Linked DNA regions of Homo sapiens: region 2 is linked to region 1. Evidence: promoter capture Hi-C in human tissues and cell types (Jung and others, 2019). All regions are on one chromosome and are shown on one strand. The core of a region is centred on a gene start or on the middle of the fragment in contact, and the rest is flanking DNA. Distances in the headings are between cores, read along the strand shown.

What was found. The method cuts DNA at HindIII sites, captures the fragments that hold promoters and counts their contacts. A contact is called where the count stands out against the background at its distance.
Region 2: a contact is called between a fragment that was not itself captured here and the fragment with the promoter of C1QA in region 1, in 2 of the 25 tissues and cell types used here (adrenal gland and mesenchymal stem cells).

Annotation. Positions count from the first base shown.
Region 1 is chr1:22,633,571-22,637,877 of GRCh38, reverse strand. It overlaps C1QA (complement C1q A chain), which reads right to left and starts at 1,250. Exons shown (of 3, transcript NM_015991.4): 1 at 1,176-1,250; 2 at 99-268. The coding sequence starts at 261. The HindIII fragment of the contact is 11,741 bases long and covers 1-2,253 here.
Region 2 is chr1:22,487,317-22,491,550 of GRCh38, reverse strand. ZBTB40 (zinc finger and BTB domain containing 40) reads right to left here. Exons shown (of 18, transcript NM_014870.4): 2 at 906-1,671; 3 at 18-151. The coding sequence starts at 1,602. Among named protein-coding and RNA genes, the nearest start is that of ZBTB40, 38 kb to the right of the region's middle. The HindIII fragment of the contact is 3,163 bases long and covers 1,228-4,234 here.

The DNA of each region.
Region 1 (4,307 bases), core at 1-2,500:
AGACGGACTCCTGATTCTCAGTGCCACCCCAAGCCTTCACCCTGGAGGCCAAGTCAGGCCAAGGTCCAAGGGGCTGGGTCCCGAGGAAGGGTGCTTACCCGGCTCCCCTTGCTCCCCCTTGAGGCCTGGCCGCCCCCGTCTGCCAGGTCTTCCTGCCTCCCCTTTCTTCCCGTCTGGTGCTCGGCACAAGTCCTCGGTCACCATAGAGGCCAGCGATATGGCCAGCACACAGAGCACCAGCCATCCCCGGGGACCCTCCATGATGCCTCTGTGGAGACACGGGAGGGCCTGGGCAGGTTGGACATCACACTCACACCCAGCTCCCACCCTTGAGTCCCATGCACACAATGATATATGCACAGTCCTCCCCAAGTGCACATGCACCCTCTGGGGCTCTCAATGTCCACTCTCAATCCAGCCCCAGGACCCCACGCATATACACAGAACCACAAACTCACACACATCCACACATGCAACAGAGCACACCCACATCTTCACACACTCACACAAACACAGCTCTCATCCACGCACCTACAAAACACAGTAGGCAAACTCAGAAATCCACTATACCCCCCTAGACACACAACTGATACCCAAATAGACCCTGTCCCTCACTTGCACGGACACACACATTCATACACTCCCACAGGTAATCGATTTCATTGAACAAATATGTATTGAGCGCCTGCTCCTTATTTAATTAACACTGGCTCACCCAGATGGTGGAGCTCTGCATACACACAGGAATTCACAAACGCCCAAAGCGACACCTGCTCACTCTTCTGCATGCTCAGCGCCTTTCAGCATCCACCTGAGCATGGGTGACTGGCTGCCCCTACAGTCCCCTCTGCTGGGTCCCACTGCCAGCTCTAGCACCCCAGGCTTTTCCTGGTTTCTTATGTGTTATGGGGCCAGGACCCAGGAACCCTGGTCTTACCCTTCAGTTGTTAGGTCTAACTCATCGCCTCTCACCCTCCCCCAAGCCCTGGCTCAAGGAGTTAAGGTCCCTCCACTCACCCATTCTGGGTCCTGGATCAGTGCTGCACCCCCATCCCTGTCCTAGAATCAGGCACAGTTATTTCCCTCCCTCCCTGCCTCAGCTGCCCAGCCTCCTGGGCCAGCTCCCCTGGGTCCCAGAACTCTGCAGCCCCCTCCCTCTGGGACTCTGGCCTCACCTGCCTCCTGTTGTCAACTCCAACTGGATGCTCCTGCCCTCCGCCCAGGGACCCTGTGGGCTGCCCAGCAGGAGTGGCTCCAGGCTGTGGCCAAGTTTCACATCCCTTCCTACTTCCCCTTCTTCAGACCTGCCCCCTGAACTTCCCCAGTGGCCAGAAGCTCACCAGGGACATTTCAAGCAGACTTCAGCAAGACTGGGACATTGGGCGTCCTGCCCCAGCAACAGCTGGTGTGGGAGTGGGGGCAGTGAGGCCAGTGCCTGTGAGGATGTGGGGTGGAGGCCGTGCAGGGTGAGGTTCTGAGAACCAGCGAAGCACAGAACACCAGAGCGGAAGGAATCTTTAAAAAAATCTGTCCCTTGTAGGACTTTTCATGATTATGAAAGTGACATGCAATTCATTGCCAAAAGCTTGGAAAATACAAAGAAGAAAGAACAGTGCATTGGTGAGAAGGAAGCACAGCAATCTGTTTCTAGACTTGCTGCTTCCTAGTTGCATGTCTTTGGGAAATTACTTGACCTCCTGAGCCCTCAGTTTTATCTGTACACTGGGAACGGGGTCCTATATCATCTGATTATTATAACATTTTAATGACTTGCACATACAAAACACTTGGCACATGGTGAACACTTAGTCACTAGCTTTTGCCAACATTTAAAAAAACAGCAAGTCTAGGTGCTTTGGCTCACGCCTGTAATCCCAGCATTTTGGGAGGTCAAGGCAGGCGGATCACTTGAGGTCAGGAGTTCGAGACCAGCCTGGCCAACATGGTGAAACTCCATCTCTACTAAAAATTTAAAAAATAGCCAGGTGTGGTAGCATGCACCTGTGTAGTCCCAGCTATTTGGGAGGCTGAGCTGGGAGGATTGCTAGAGCCCAGGAGGTTGAGGCTGCAGTGAGCTTTGATCTTACCACTGCACTCCTGCCTGGGAGACAGAACAAGACCCCATCTCAAAAAAAAAAAAAAAAAAAAGAGATGGCAATGGCGGGCCGTCTGGAATGGCTGCTGTCATCACACTGGCTGCAGCAGGGAGGCACGGCCAGGGCTGCATGCTCCATGTAGCCAGTGGGAGCTGGGGACAGTGGGAACCCCGCCCTCCTGGGAACCACTGCAGCTGCCAAACCACAGCTGATCCTGCTTCATGGAGCAGGTGGGGGCCCCCGCCATCCCCCATGCAGCTGCAGCTGCCTAAACTGCAGCTGTGGACCCAGGCATCCCTGCAATCTTGGGGGCCCGGGAAGGCCCCCCGCCCCACCCTTCAGGCTCAGAAGTGTCTGCTCCCACTGCCTGGCTTCTCCCTCCTCTTGGCGCCCACTCTGATCTTAGAGCAAAGTTGGTGCTGAGCCTGGGTGCTGTCGCAGCCTGGCTGGGTGTGGGCATGCTTGGGGCAGTGCTGACACACTAGACCCCTGCTGCCTTGGCCCCCTCTGGACTTTGGGCACTGACTAGCATGGAAGGAAAGCCAAGGGGAAACTGAGGGCAGCTCGGCACTGGCCTGCAGACGCTCCTTGGCATGAACAGCCTGGGCACCATGAACAGCAGCAGGAGACAGACAGGCTCCTGGGTGGAAGGGGATGGGTCCCTGGTGAGGCCCTACCTTCAAGCCAGGGAGGGCCTCAAGGCTGGGGGCCAGGCTGCCAGTCCCACACACCAGAGTGGGAACTTATGGTGTATTTTCTGGGCTTGCCTATAGCCACCCATGGACCAATCAGTATGCACTTCCTCCTCTCTGAGGCTCATGAAAGCTTCAGGCTCAGCCAGAGCTGGGCAGACATTGGATGACCAGCTGCCGAGAGGAGCTACCCGCTCCAGGGCCTCCTCTCTGCTGAGAGCTGCAGAGATGGCAGAACAACTTGCCTGCAGAAAGGAGCTTCCCATTCCAGGGTCTTCCCTCTTCTGAGAGCTGGAAAGTCGACAGGATGACCTGCCTGCAGAGAGGAGCTTCCCATTCCAGGGTCTCCTCTCTGCTAGCAGCTGAACACTCATCAGGACACCCTGGCTGTGGAAAGGAGCTGCCCCCTGAGGGAGGCTCTGCAGGAGGCTGAGCTGTTCTATCGCTCAGTAAAGCTCCTCTTCGTCTTGCTCACTCCCCACTTGTCTGCATACCTCATTCTTCCTGGTTGCAGGATAAGAACTTGGGACCCATCAAATGGTGGGGCTGAAAGAGCTGTAACACAAACAAGGCTGAAACATGCCCCTTGCTTGCCATGATGCAGGTGAAGGGAAGGAAAGAAGAGCTGCGGCCCTCTGGGGAACCCAGACCTGGGAGCTCCCCAAGCTGGAGCTGTGACTCCCTTTTCGGGGCCCTGTGGTTCCTGGCATCTCGAAGCTTCTGGGTGCCACCGTGTTCCCCGGTGCCAGCTGTGGAAGCTGCTTGTGGTGTACTTGGTCTAGCCACAACCTCTCAGAGAGCTGGCGCCCATGCTGGCACCTGGAGCTGCTCACCCCGCTGCAGCAGCCGGCATGTCTGACTGTGTGCAGTGGCCAGACCCCATGTTCACTCACACACCCTTCACTGTTCCATGCCTGACTTGCCCTGGGCAGATGTGGAACCCAGGCTGGTAATGTGAGCTGAGTGCTGCCTGCCAGGAGGAGTGAGTGAAACAAGCCCAGTGGGCCTGAGCAAAACTTGGGCAAAGGTGCCACCAGCCACAGAGGTTTCCGGCCAGAAAATGACACCCCAAAGATCCTGTAACACCATCTCAAAAAAAAACAAAAAACAAAACCCAGCAACAAAAGCCTGTGAATTCTACCATCTAGAGACAATTGCTGCTAGTGTTTGAACAGATCATCTAGCCTTACTCACCTTAACTGATGGGATGCTCATTACCTGTCAGCACGGCACACTGCATCATTGTCAGCTTGGACCCTGAGAATGCTTTTCTTTAGATAGAGAGGCTCTGTCTCTCCCAGACTGGAGACCAATGTGTTCAGGCCTGGGCTGACCACATCTGTCTGCTTCTTCTCATGAGCATGTTTTTGTTTGTTTGTTTGTTTTCTGAAAATTTTGCCAGAGGCAGGAGGAGGAAAAGAGGAGGAGGAGGGAGGAGATAAGGGAAGGCTGTTGAAGTGGGCAGATGAAGGATGGTCTAGAGCCAGGGTTTTTGAGCTTTGGGGACTTCTTTTTCATT
Region 2 (4,234 bases), core at 1,560-4,059, 150 kb after region 1:
AAGTCAGAGGTGCCTACCTCCTTCTGTGGACCTTTAATTTCTGAACACATTTCTAGTTTTTTTAAAACATCCTGGGTAACCATGAGTGCATCTGAGAAGACACCTTCATTTTCTAGAAGAAAATTCAGCTGGTAGTGTTTCCTTTCACATCCTAAATGTAGAACAAAATAAAACAAATCAGAAATTCATTACTTGAAATAAATTTTTACAAGTTTAAGCTGTCTGAGCACCTTCAGGTCATATACTGCACTTAACTGATCTCTGTCTAGCACATCAGTTATGAATAACAGACAACAGTATCTCTCACAGCTTCCTCCTTTGTGCTGTCCTCAGCCTGGTTAAAATAGCAGATAATCAGCAGGGCACGGTGGCTCACGCCTGTAATCCCAGCACTTTGGGAGGCTGAGGCGGGTGGATCATGAGGTCAGGAATTCGAGACCAGCCTGGCCAACATGGTGAAATCCCATCTCCACTAAAAATACAAAAAATTAGCTGGGCGTGGTGGCACATGCCTGTAATCCCAGCTACTCAGGAGGCTGAGGCAGGAGAATTGCTTGAACCCAGGAGGCGGAGGTTGCAGTGAGCTGAGATCATGCCATTGCACTTCAGCCTGGGCAACAGAACAAGACTCCGTCTCGAGAGAAAACAAAACAAAACAAAACGAAACAGATAATTATCGAAATGGTACGTCATTATTCCAATACTGCTTTTCTGCTCTGTAGTTCATGTTTGGACTTTCAATGTTCAAAAACACAGACACTTTTAAAAGAATGGCCCAGTACGGTACTGCACTGAATTTTGGTTTTCTACCTAACAGTGGTCTTTGATAAATTTATTAATCAAACATTAAAACTGATAAAGATCATTGAAAACAGAAGGATGGAATATAAAACAATGACTGTTACCTGGTTCTGTGCTTGTCTTCTTTGCCTCACTAAAGGTTTGCACAGCAGGGGAGGGGGAACAAGCTTCAGCTGTAGTAGGAGTCTCCGCTGGGGTTTCTGCATTCCTCTGGCTCTCCTGGGCTGTGGGAGAATTCACACTCATCTCTTGTGAAACTGAATGGGCTGCTTCCTCAGTCTCAGCTTTCACAGGGCCCCCTGGAGTGGCAGCAAGCTCTGGGGAAGAATGAGGCTCTCCAGCACCTTCAGATGAAAGGATTTCTACTTGAGGCTTCTCTGGTTCCTTTCTGAATGTCTCTGAGGATGGCGCAGAGACATCCCTTACCACCTGACCCTGAACCGAGCAGTTTACAAGGCTGGTCAGAAGATTTTTGCAGCTAACAGCTACATCAAACATCTGTAGACTGTCTGCTAAGGAGATGATTTTGGAGAAGTTGTGCTTGCCCACAGGTAGTTTGCCCGTGTACATCATTTCCAACAAGAGCGCAAACTCCTCGGGGCTCACCACAGATGCATCGATGGAGATGGTATCTGTGTTATCCAGCAGGGTTTTGAACAGGAGGCTGGCAGCAGCCAGGACAAGCTTGTGAGCCCTGAAGTAAATGGTACCAATGGAGATGGTGCAATCACAGAACTGCTGCTCCTTGCACAGAGTGTACAGCTGCTGCAGCAGCTGCCGGCTGTAGTTGGGGAGCTCCATTGCGTCAACTCTGCCCCAAGAACTGCTCTTCCTCTCCTCTCCTTAGAGTTGGCTTTGGGAGGACAGGCCCTAGAGAAACCCACAAAATACCAGGTTAAAACTTCAAAAAACCATAGGGAAAGGCCTTGAATGAAACGCTAAATGAACAGAAAGGCATTTCACTCATTCATCCAACAAATATTGCTTAATAGGAAGGGACAGTATGCCAGGTATACTAAATCAGTAATGATCATTATCATTATGTGTTTAAATATATGAAAGAGACTGTGCATAATGCTTTGTATGGACGGTCTCATTTGATTCTCACAACGATTCAGTGGAAAAGATATTATTTCCTCCCCATTTTACAGATGAGATTGGAGCTTTGAAGGACCAAGAGAATCACCCTAAGGAAAAACAGCCATCTCACTGACTTCGAAGCTCTAACTACACTACCATTCCTGCTCCCAAAAAGCTCTCAGCCACCTAGAGGAGATAAATATGTAGACGGAGACTTACAATACAATGTCCTTGGCTTATTCAGTCTAGCCCTAACAAGGGACGGAGGTCATCATTCTCTTCCTCTGAAAATACATTTTTCACTTGGTTCTCCTTCTCACTCACTAGCCATGCCTTCCCAGTCTCCTTGGTTGAGTCCTCTGCATCAGCGCAGCCTTTAAAGCTTGGAGTGCTCGAGGACCCAGTCATCCCGCCTCTTACCTTCCCTCTCTTCTGATTCCATAGCTTTGAAATATCATCTAAATGCTGACAGCTTTCAGATTTATGTCTCTGGCTCAGCCTGTTCCTCTGAACTCCTGATGTAGACCTCCAACTACCTATTCAACATCTCCAACTGGAACCTGGTTTCTGAAACGTAACATATCCAAAACTCTCCTGCCACTTTCCCACCTCACAGCAATTCTGTCCTTCTAGTTCTTCAGACTAAAACCAAGTCATCCTTGACTTTTGCTTTTTCTCATACGCTATATCCAATCCTTTATAAATCCTGTTGGCTCTACCTTCAAAACATATCCAAAATCCAACCGCTAATTTCCTTCACTGGCTCCTCTCTAGTCAGTCCAAACTGCCATCATCTCTTACCTAGATTACTGCAGCAACCTCCTAATTAGCCTCCATGCCTCCATCCTCCCCTACTGCTACCCCTACCTCATCCTATCTTCAACCCAGTAGGCGGAGCAATCTACTTAACACACAGCCAGATCTTGCTGCTGCTTTGCACAAAAAGCCTTAAATGGCTTCCAGTCTTAGAGTAAAAGTCAAAGTTCTTACAATGGCCTAGCAAGCCTTTAATCATGATCTGGCTGTCATCGGCTCCTAACCTCATCTTTTACCACTCACTCTCCCCCTCACCCATTCTGCTCTGAGAACTCTGCCTTCCTTGCTGACCTGGGAATATACTAAGCATGCTCTGCGTTCTCTGACTCAGGGCTGAGCATGCTTAGTATATCTGTGCCTGGCTGGCTGGCTCATTTCTACCAGCCCTTTGCTCAGAGGCCATGTTAGCAGTAAGGCCTTTCCTGACCATGTTTTTTCAACAAGCAACCTCCCCTCCAACCTCAGAACATCCCGCTCCTTCGTCTGCTTTGTTTTTCAGCATAGCACTTATCGCCTACTGACATACTATATTTTTATTTGTTATTATCTATCTTCCTTCACTAGAATGTAAGCTCCATTAGGGTAAGAACTTAATTTTATCACCTGCTGTATCCCAGTGCTTAAAATTCTGCTTAACACAAATACTGTTGATTACTTGGTAGAATGAATAAATAACTAAAAGGCAACATAATGATGGATTTGTACACACAAACACAGTTTGGGGGATAGGAGAGTCCAGGAGTTAGAGTAAAGCTTTGAGGGAAAAACAGCTGACCTGTGTCTTAAAAGATACGGACGCACAGATGAGGTAAAAAGAATGGGAGGAAAAGGCAATCCTGGCAGGGACGCCTGCATGAGGCATGCAGATAAGAAAACATCCCGTGGTAGCAGGCAGGAGGATTAGGAACTGAGATTATTACTGGAACATAAAGCAGGGAATAGGAGTGTTAAGAGATGAATCTGGAGAGGCAGGCAGGGGTGTTGGCCACAGAGGGATATATAGGCCATGCTTACGAGCTTGGAGGTTATCCTAAAAGCAATGAGCAGCCATTGAGGCATTTGAAAGGCTTTAAGCAGCAAAGTCATGTGGTCAGATATGCATTTTAAATATACCACCTAAGTAACATGTGTACAGAATTTGAGGGGGATAATGCTGGAGACGGGCTCTATTATTGCAGGAGATCAGGAGAAAATCAATGAGGGCTTCAAGCAGGAGAACTGGTAATAGGAGAGAGCCAAAAAAACATTGCAAAGTATAGCTGTCATGACTTAGGGACTGAATGGATGTGAAGGACAGAGAGAAACAATTCCCAGGTTCCTGGCTTGGTGAATGGGTGGATGATAAGATGATCCAGATAATACAAGAACAGACAGTTTAGGGGAAGAGACATCTAGTTCAGTTTTGGGTTTGAGGATCTTATCTTTGAGGATGTTTGAGGAAATTATGTAATCTCACTTGTAAAAGAAAAAAGTACGCTAAGAAAAGGGCGGAAAGACATATGTCAAAAAACCAGTAATTGCTTTTGTTAGAGGATTA